Regions from separate parts of the Homo sapiens genome. Here region 2 is linked to region 1. The links are contacts of gene promoters, found by promoter capture Hi-C in human tissues and cell types (Jung and others, 2019). All regions are on one chromosome and are shown on one strand. Each heading gives the region's core, a stretch centred on a gene start or on the middle of the fragment in contact. The rest is flanking DNA. Distances are from core to core; before and after follow the strand shown.

The links. Contacts are between HindIII fragments. The study calls those that stand out against the background at their distance.
Region 2: a contact is called between a fragment that was not itself captured here and the fragment with the promoter of NFATC4 in region 1, in 1 of the 25 tissues and cell types used here (adrenal gland).

The regions. Positions count from the first base shown.
Region 1 is chr14:24,365,177-24,370,157 of GRCh38, forward strand. NFATC4 (nuclear factor of activated T cells 4) reads left to right here and starts at 3,008. Exons shown (of 10, transcript NM_004554.5): 1 at 3,008-3,264; 2 at 4,323-4,981. The coding sequence starts at 3,165. It overlaps LOC124903291 (a long non-coding RNA gene), which reads right to left and starts at 4,209. Exons shown (of 2, transcript XR_007064085.1): 1 at 4,071-4,209; 2 at 340-1,351. RefSeq lists silencers at 1,439-1,748, 3,467-3,846 and an enhancer at 4,809-4,981. The HindIII fragment of the contact is 13,574 bases long and covers 1-4,688 here.
Region 2 is chr14:24,415,159-24,420,139 of GRCh38, forward strand. NYNRIN (NYN domain and retroviral integrase containing) reads left to right here. Exons shown (of 9, transcript NM_025081.3): 9 at 1-4,125. The coding sequence ends at 2,288. Among named protein-coding and RNA genes, the nearest start is that of CBLN3, 12 kb to the right of the region's middle. The HindIII fragment of the contact is 3,050 bases long and covers 1,385-4,434 here.

The DNA.
Region 1 (4,981 bases), core at 1,758-4,257:
TATAAACTACCTACATCCTGTTCTTGTCTCAGGCTCTACTTACTGGAGGAGCCAAGCCTGGGACAGATTCCTGTGTAAAATGTGATGGAATGAATTAGCAAACTTGACAAGGACCCAGGAGGCCTGGGTTCCAGATCAACTCTATTGCTAACCTGATTTGTAAAAGTCACTTTATCTACTGAAAAGGTGGGCATTTTCATCATCATTTTCAGATGGTACTATGGGAGAAGATCTTCCAACCATTTGTTAAGTGAGGAAAAAAAAAAGCAAGAAAAATGCTTGTCACGCGCATAAAAAGAGCATGTGTGTGTGCGTACATGTTAATAAAGGCATACAAAATGGTGGACCATCAAGGTTTACTACATATTTTTGTATAGCTTGAATTGTTTACAAGAAGAATGCATATTAATTAGCTTTATTTAGACCTCTGGGGAAAAGAGAAGACTGCATCTTGTGTAATTAAAAAAAGAAATAAATAACATCCACCTCCAAGGAAGTTGAATGATGCTTGTTAAAGTGCAGAGCAGAAGCCACCAACCAAGGTAAGAAAGCCGGGTTGTGCTCCGGTATGTGCGCTAGGAGGCAGCGGAGCTGAGACCGAGGCCAGGCGGCTAGAGAAACCGCGAACCAAGGACGGGGGGGCTGGGTCTTTCTGGTCGCCAGGGGGCAGAAGTGTAGGGCAACTTAAATCCGCAACTACCCGCTGTTGCCCAGGCTCCAACGCCAGGCCGAGCATTTCAGAAGTCATAAGTTCCATCTCTCTGCCGCAGCCGAGACAGATTGGAGGGTTTTCAGAGTCAAGGGGATGCCCCCCCGCCCCCCGCCTCAGAGAAGCTTGGCACTCTGAACAATCTCAACCACTCTCCCCTCTGCTCCTCCCTTCCCTACCCCCCAACACCCATGAAGGGGAAATTGAGTCATGGGAGGAGAGGCCAGAGTCATCAGGGGAATGAGGGCCGACGCCAGCCCTCAGGGCCTTCCAGATGCTAGGAGGAGGAGGGTTCTCCAGGAAAACAAACAGGGGTGAGAGGGGAAGGCGGTTGGCTGGGCAGGAGCTGAGCCAGACACATGGAGAAACGCTGCCCAGGATCAAAGGAAATATGACATTTGAAAAGAATGTGTGCGTCTGCATGTGCTGTGCCTGCGGGGAGTGGGGCCGGGGAGGGGCAGAGTCTGGGGGAACAGGGGCTGGGCCTCGGGGTCTCTATCCCTGCTTTTCTCGCCTCCGCTTCCCACCTCCCTTGCCCTCTTAGGTACAGGCTGGTTGATGGGTCGAGGTGTTCCTCGTCCTCCCTCCCCGTGGGTTTCTCCTTCCTTTATTTCCGAGATGAAGCTGGAAGGGAAATGTAACCTGAGGAGACCAACCAAAGGAAAAAAAAGAAAAAAAAAAGAAAAAAAAAAAAAAGAAAGAAGAAAATCAAACCAGGCCGCTTCCCCGCTCGGCCTCGGAACATTCTTCTCTCCCCGCCGGCCTGGGCTCTTCTCCCCGCCCCTCCTGTGTTGCGGCCCTGGGCTCGGAGCCGGGGCAGCTCCGCACGTCACTGGGGTCCCCGGGGACTGGGGGGGTGGTCCCCTGGGCGGGCCCGAGGGAGGACCGAGGGGAGGGAGGGAAGCCGCCTCGGCCGCTGCGGAGCTCCGGCCCGTCGGGCCAGCCCTCCCTTCTTTCCCCAGTCCCGTAGAGCCTGTTTCTCATTAGAGTAACGGGCGCGGTCCCCGCCCGGCTTCTGAGTGTTTGTAAACGTCTGACCTGGGGCCGTCGCTTAACCGTTTAGTTGCTGGGATGGGGCGGCGTTGGGGGTGCGGCCCTGAACCGGAGGGATTTAGAGACTGGAGACGCGGCCTCTAAGAGAGGTTGAAACTGTGTGTGTGTGGGAGAAAATGATAACCACCCTCCCATCTCTCCTACCCGCCAGCCTCGCCAGTATCTCCCACCGAGTCACGAATCTCCCATCTAACTCCCTCTCACACAACCCAGGCCTCTCCAAGCCTGACTTTCCCGGAAACTCCAGTCCAGGTCTTCCTTCCTCCTCCAGCCCAGGTGACAGGTGTCCAGCCTGTTGGGGGCGGGGGGGCCAAGGAGGGGGAAGAGGAGGGGAACCCACAGGGTCCGGAGGTTTCAGGCCCCTAGTAAACCTGGCAAGGATTTTTAGAAGAGCCGGAGTGGGATGCTATCGGGTCAGAGATTCATTCCAGACTACAGTTCTAGGGAGGAGGCTGCCAACTTCCCGTGGAGGCTAATTCACGGCCCCTCTGGGTGGCTGGGACAAGGGCAGCGGCAAAGCCTGGCCTGGATCTACGCCCATCAAGGGCTGTGGGCCTAGGGACAGTTCTCAAAGCCTCTTTGGCTCGGACTGCTCCCAGAGGCATCCAGGCTGGCTAAGCGTTCTTCATCTTTGGGGGTCCTGGAGGAATGGCTGATGGAGGCGCTGATTCGGCAGCGCAAAGACTTCCAGAAGGCCCGGGCAGAGTAGCCCCAGGCAAGGGAGGCGGAAGAATAGCCTTTTCCTCTTCCGAGCAACTCGGTGCCACTCTGCCCCCAGGACCCTCCTGGCCTCAGGCTTGGAGGGAAAGGGGAGGAGAAGTGGTTCTGCCTTGCTAGGTGCTATCTACACAGTCTTCAGAATTTAAAAAAGGGTCTTCCGTGGGCTCTCTACCCTGGGGGCCCAGGATGTGGCCCCTTTAAGGCTCTCGGACCCAGAACCTTGAACTGAGACTAGGGGAGGTGGGGGCTGGGCTCTCTGCGGGAAATGATTGTCACAACGGCGGACCAATAGGCAACATTAGTATCACTCTTGAAGGACCGTTTTCCAATTCAGTTTTTTTTTTTTTGAGGGGGAGGGACTGAAGAGAGGACAGAGGGAGGGAGGGTGGGGGAGGACGAGGGGCGCGTGGTTTTCCCATCTCATCCCTGGAGGAGGGGCTGGAGCATCCCCGGCAGCCAATCAGGGACAGGCTGGGGGGGGGACCGCTTTGAAGAAGTTTGGGGGAAAAAAGTTTGGAAAAGTTTCTATAATAACGAGGGGGCTTCTGGAGGGAGGCGGCAGCGACGGAGGAGGGGGCTTCTCAGAGAAAGGGAGGGAGGGAGCCACCCGGGTGAAGATACAGCAGCCTCCTGAACTCCCCCCTCCCACCCAGGCCGGGACCTGGGGGCTCCTGCCGGATCCATGGGGGCGGCCAGCTGCGAGGATGAGGAGCTGGAATTTAAGCTGGTGTTCGGGGAGGAAAAGGAGGCCCCCCCGCTGGGCGCGGGGGGATTGGGGGAAGGTTAGTGCTGGGCTGGGAAGGGGTCTTGGGGTCAGTGAGAGGAGGGCCGGGGATCCTGAGTCTGGGGAATTTAAGGCAGCGAGCCTAGGGTGGGGGGTGAGGGAGTCAGAGGTCGAAGGGAGTCGGGGGGACTCGTTGGCCTGCGGAAGTGAGGCTGGGGGCCCGGGCACCACTTTCTCCTTTTTAGGTCGTGACTGGGGTGGGGGTGGGGGTGCTGTTGGCTGTGCGCCGCCTCCCGGCTGGGCCGCCTGTCACTGAACTGGGGGGCGGGCGGGAACTACGGCCCCAACAGCACCAGGCGCCGCCAGGGGAAGGGGAGGTTTGGCGCTGGAGCTGGCCCCTGGCGGACCGAGCTCTGGCCCGGCCGACTGGACGCCCGGGGCTGGGGGCGCTGTCAGGCCTCGCTGGGGCGCCCCTCCCCCTCCCCCGTCTGGCCGCAATGAGAGGCAGATGGCGGGGACCGAGCCGGGGGCGGCGGCCGCCGCTCGCACGAATCCGCGCTGCCCGCTGCCCCCCTTCCCCCGGCTGGGCCCAGCACGCATCACCCCCTCGGCTGCACCTCCGCCCCTAGATGGCGAGGAGAGAGGGAGGAGCCACCTCCCCTCGTCACCACAGCCCTGACGCCCCCCTCCCCTCTGGCCACGGTTGCGATGGCAACTGGGGCTCCTGCCAGCGCCGTTTGGGGGTTTGGGAACCGCTGCTAATTGGGTTCATGTGTGAGTCGCCCCCAGTCCAGCCCAGTGCCTCAAGAAACACGCCTCCAGGCCCAGCCCCAGCTCCAGCCCCTCTGGACCCACCTCTCTCACCTTAAGACCCACTGGATCGGGTACCCTCGGTCCTAGGATCCAGGGGCCAGTGGGCAAAGGCCTGGCATGCCTGCTTCAATCTCCTCCATCTTCCCAGGTCCAACTCTGCTTTTGTCTTGTGGCTCAGAAGGTCTCTTTGCTGAGGGGCAGGGAGCATAGAAGGACTTGCGGCCTGGCCACTCAAGGAACATAGCCATCTCACCTGCTTCTCTCTTTCCCCCTCTCCCTCTGCTCCTCTTCCCATTTTGACAGAACTGGACTCAGAGGATGCCCCGCCATGCTGCCGTCTGGCCTTGGGAGAGCCCCCTCCCTATGGCGCTGCACCTATCGGTATTCCCCGACCTCCACCCCCTCGGCCTGGCATGCATTCGCCACCGCCGCGACCAGCCCCCTCACCTGGCACCTGGGAGAGCCAGCCCGCCAGGTCGGTGAGGCTGGGAGGACCAGGAGGGGGTGCTGGGGGTGCTGGGGGTGGCCGTGTTCTCGAGTGTCCCAGCATCCGCATCACCTCCATCTCTCCCACGCCGGAGCCGCCAGCAGCGCTGGAGGACAACCCTGATGCCTGGGGGGACGGCTCTCCTAGAGATTACCCCCCACCAGAAGGCTTTGGGGGCTACAGAGAAGCAGGGGGCCAGGGTGGGGGGGCCTTCTTCAGCCCAAGCCCTGGCAGCAGCAGCCTGTCCTCGTGGAGCTTCTTCTCCGATGCCTCTGACGAGGCAGCCCTGTATGCAGCCTGCGACGAGGTGGAGTCTGAGCTAAATGAGGCGGCCTCCCGCTTTGGCCTGGGCTCCCCGCTGCCCTCGCCCCGGGCCTCCCCTCGGCCATGGACCCCCGAAGATCCCTGGAGCCTGTATGGTCCAAGCCCCGGAGGCCGAGGGCCAGAGGATAGCTGGCTACTCCTCAGTGCTCCT
Region 2 (4,981 bases), core at 1,660-4,159, 50 kb after region 1:
CCTTCCTGGCCCTGAAGCGAGCCCTGGTGTCTGCCCTCTGCCTGATGGCCCCCAACTCCCAGCTGCCCTTCCGCCTGGAGGTGACCGTGAGCCACGTGGCCCTGACGGCCATCCTCCATCAGGAGCACTCAGGGAGGAAGCACCCCATAGCCTATACCTCAAAACCCCTCCTCCCTGATGAGGAGAGCCAGGGCCCCCAGTCAGGGGGTGACAGCCCCTATGCTGTGGCCTGGGCCCTCAAGCATTTTTCCCGCTGCATTGGAGACACCCCGGTGGTCCTGGACCTTTCCTATGCCTCCCGGACCACTGCGGACCCTGAGGTGCGGGAGGGCCGCAGGGTTTCCAAAGCTTGGTTGATCCGATGGTCCCTCTTGGTTCAGGACAAAGGCAAGAGGGCCCTGGAATTGGCCCTCCTCCAGGGCCTGCTGGGGGAGAACCGCCTGCTCACCCCCGCGGCCTCCATGCCTCGCTTCTTCCAGGTTCTGCCGCCTTTCTCTGACCTGTCCACGTTCGTCTGCATCCACATGTCGGGCTACTGCTTCTACCGTGAGGATGAGTGGTGTGCTGGCTTTGGTCTCTATGTTCTATCGCCCACCAGCCCCCCTGTCTCCCTTTCCTTCTCCTGCTCCCCTTACACGCCAACCTATGCCCACCTGGCAGCCGTGGCCTGCGGCCTGGAGCGCTTTGGCCAGTCCCCACTCCCAGTGGTTTTCCTCACTCACTGCAACTGGATCTTCAGCCTCCTGTGGGAGCTCCTGCCCCTCTGGAGGGCTCGGGGCTTCCTCTCCTCTGATGGGGCTCCACTCCCTCACCCAAGCCTGCTCTCCTACATTATATCCCTCACCTCTGGCCTCTCATCCCTTCCGTTTATCTACCGAACCTCCTACCGGGGCTCTCTGTTTGCTGTGACAGTGGACACCCTGGCCAAGCAGGGTGCCCAGGGGGGTGGGCAGTGGTGGAGTTTGCCAAAGGATGTGCCAGCCCCTACAGTGAGTCCCCATGCCATGGGCAAGAGGCCCAATTTGCTGGCATTACAGCTGAGTGACAGCACCCTGGCCGACATCATTGCCAGGCTGCAGGCTGGGCAGAAACTGTCTGGCTCCTCACCGTTTAGTTCTGCCTTTAACTCACTCAGCCTCGACAAGGAGAGTGGCCTGCTTATGTTCAAGGGAGATAAGAAGCCCAGGGTCTGGGTAGTCCCGACGCAACTCCGGAGGGATCTGATTTTCTCTGTGCATGACATTCCCTTGGGGGCCCACCAGAGGCCCGAAGAGACCTACAAGAAGTTGCGTTTGCTGGGGTGGTGGCCTGGGATGCAGGAGCATGTGAAAGATTACTGCAGGAGCTGCTTGTTCTGCATCCCCCGAAATCTCATAGGCAGCGAGTTGAAGGTTATTGAGTCCCCATGGCCCCTCAGGTCGACCGCCCCCTGGTCGAACCTGCAGATCGAGGTGGTGGGCCCGGTCACCATAAGTGAGGAGGGCCATAAGCATGTACTTATTGTGGCTGACCCAAACACCAGGTGGGTGGAGGCATTCCCCCTGAAGCCCTACACACACACGGCTGTGGCCCAGGTGCTGCTTCAGCATGTGTTTGCAAGGTGGGGTGTTCCTGTGAGGCTGGAGGCAGCCCAGGGGCCCCAGTTTGCCCGGCACGTCCTTGTGAGCTGTGGGCTGGCCCTGGGAGCCCAGGTGGCCTCCCTGAGTCGGGACCTCCAGTTCCCCTGCCTGACGAGCTCAGGGGCCTACTGGGAATTCAAGAGGGCCCTCAAGGAGTTCATCTTCCTGCATGGGAAGAAGTGGGCGGCCTCCCTGCCTTTGCTGCACCTGGCCTTCAGGGCCTCCTCCACTGATGCCACACCGTTCAAGGTCCTGACCGGGGGTGAGTCAAGGCTCACGGAGCCCCTGTGGTGGGAGATGAGCAGCGCAAACATTGAAGGGCTCAAGATGGACGTCTTCCTGCTACAGCTGGTGGGGGAGCTGCTGGAGCTCCACTGGAGGGTGGCTGACAAGGCGAGTGAAAAGGCCGAGAACAGGCGTTTCAAGCGGGAGAGCCAGGAGAAGGAGTGGAATGTGGGTGACCAGGTCCTTTTGCTGTCCCTCCCCAGGAATGGCAGCAGTGCCAAATGGGTGGGTCCCTTCTATATCGGGGACCGGCTGAGCCTGTCACTCTATAGGATATGGGGCTTCCCAACCCCAGAGAAGCTGGGGTGCATCTATCCCAGCAGTCTGATGAAGGCCTTTGCCAAGAGTGGCACCCCGCTGTCCTTCAAGGTCTTGGAGCAGTGAGCGGGAGCAGCGGGGGTGCCCCCTGCCCCAGGGCCGTGGGTTTCTGCTGCTAGGCCTCCCCCTGTCCCAGCAGTGCTCTCAGTCCACTGGGGGCCCTCAGTTGTGCCTTTTGTAGAGAACTTGCTTCATAAAGCTTTGCTGAATTGCCTTGAACTAGGGACCAGCATCCCCATGGAAACATCCCCAGTTTGGGGTACTTGGAGAATTTGCCAAAGGCTGTCAGATATGGGTCCCTGGCAGTTTTACACTGGGAAATGGAGTGCTCCTCTAGGCTATACCAGGCTCAGTGTCTTCTCCCCAAGTATCCTCTTTCCCCTTCACATGTAGGTGTGTGGTGGTGTGCACACACACTCACGAAAGAATCTATCTTGGCCATGAAACTGTGGCTGTTGACCTTGGAATTGGAACCACAGTCCTTTCCCATACAGAAACCCCAAATGTGGGCTCCTCCCTCCAACCTGTTCTTTTGGGGACCCTTTGCCCTTAGAGCTGTCACAGATGACATAAGCCTGGGCAGGCTGTGGGGAGGCCGCTGCCTCCTAGCCTCACGGTCAGCTTTCTCAAGCCAGGTGTGGCCTGCACAGCTCTCAGGGCAGGGCTGGCCATCCTCCCAGGCCTCAAGGGCAGTGTCTTGGAGTGGGAGGATGGCCAGCCACAAGCCACCAGCTTGTCAGCATGGGAAGGGCAAGGGGGAAATGGGTTGGCCTACCTCATTTGACTCCAGCCAATGGAGACAATTCCTGACCCCTGCTTTGATGGTGTTGACCCCACAGGAATCAAGGATCTTGATGCCAAGTGTGGCATCTCTATCTGAAGAGCTGCTTCTGTTAGACCCAGGGGCCCCGGCCTCTGTTTTAAGGGGGCAGGGCGTCTGCAACAGGAGTGGCACACGGTGAAGTGCTGGCATGGCTCTACCTCCCAACCCCTCCCAACCCCATCCCAAAGCCTACAGTCCTCTGCTCCTTCTACCTCCACTGTATCCTGCATCCCAGACCCTACAGATTGTGTGATTGCTTCATCTGTATCACCCCCCGAGTCCTGTGGACCTGCCTTCTGTGTAGAGCAAAACCCAGGCTCCCTCACAGCCATTCTTTGCAGAGATCACCCTTGCAGTGAGTGTGAGTTCCTTCCAGGTGTGTGCGCGTACACTCACCCTCTGAATTGCTGCCGCTGCCAAGGAAGTGGGCTCCAGGTGAAGGCCAGTGCCACGTCACTCTGGCTGGCCTTCTTAGTAGTTTCATTTCTCCGGAAGCTGAGCCAGTCTCCTGGTCTAGCCCAGGTTGCCAGAACGCTTGGCATTGCAGAGTGCTAGAGCCAGTGGAGAACTTGCCAACTTGATTGTTTTACAGCAGAGGAAAGAGGATCACAGAGGGAAAATGATTCACCCAAAGTCACACAGCAAGTTCATGGCTGAGCTGAGACCAGGATTAAGCTTCCTGACTCCCAGTTCACCATGAAAAGGGTTCTGGCAACAGGTTCAAGCTGGAGAATCCTTCAAAATGCTACACCCACATTCTCTCCAACTCTTCATCTCCCTGATCTTCCAGACAAACTACCTGGATGTTGCCCTTAAACCATTTCTAGCTGTTAACCCTGTCCAGAAAAATGATTGAGTGATAGCTGAGAAGTGGAAAGTGTGGGATTTTTGGCAGGTGCTCTCTTTCCTCCGCCCCCCGCGCCATTCTTTCTCTTCCTCCTCTCTGTAATGGTATGTCCAGCCTCACTCTCCCTCCCTGGTGCTGTATGCGTTCCCCCTGTTAGCTACATTTGTGATCACATACCCTTCTTTTAAGTGAATTTTTTTCATTTGATTTGTCAATAAACGAATCAAACTGGAGCTGATGTCCAGTTCTTTGTTTAGCTTCAGTCTCAATTGTGGGAATGAGGAGTGTGGGGCAGTCATGGGGTATGGCTGCTATATGTTTCCCAGATAAACTTGCAGATTTGAAGAAAAGTACCTTTTCCAGACCATCTGCCCCAAGCTCTTACTGTACAGATGAAGAGACCAGGGCCCAGAGGGTGATATGCTTAAGGCTCCATAGCTGCTTCATGGCAGGGCTGGAAGGAGAGTCCCACCTCTGGGCTTCCAAGCTGGTACCCTTGGCAGTTAATGTCTTGGAAGTGGGCAGGGTTGGAATGAAAACGAGTGATGAGGCAGGGCACGGTGGCTCATGCCTGTTATTCCAGCACTTTGGGAGGCCGAGGTGGGTGGATCTCTTGAGGCCAGGAATTCAAGACCAGCCTGGCCAACATGGCGAAACCCCCTCTCTACTAAAAATACAAAAATCAGCTGGGTGTGGTGTCAGGCACCTGTAAACTCGGGAGGCTGAGGCAGGAGAATTGCTTGGACCCGGGAGGCGGAGGTTGCAGTGAGCTGAGATCACACCACTGCACTCCAGCCTGGGTGACAGAGTGAGACTCCATCTCAAAAAGAAAAGAGAAAGAAGGAAAGAAGGAAAGAAGGAAAGAAGGAAAGAAAGAAAGAAGGAAAGAAGGAAGGAAGGAAGGAAGGAAGGGAGGAATGAAAGAAAGAAAATAAATGAATGATGAGAGAATGGTGTTAGTGCTGAACCAGCTTCATTTTACTGGAAAAATTATAGACCTAGGTTTGCATCTATATTTGCTACCTATGCAGGCTGTTTCCTGAGGTCTCAGTTTCCCCATCTATAAAACACAGGGTAACAATTCCTAAT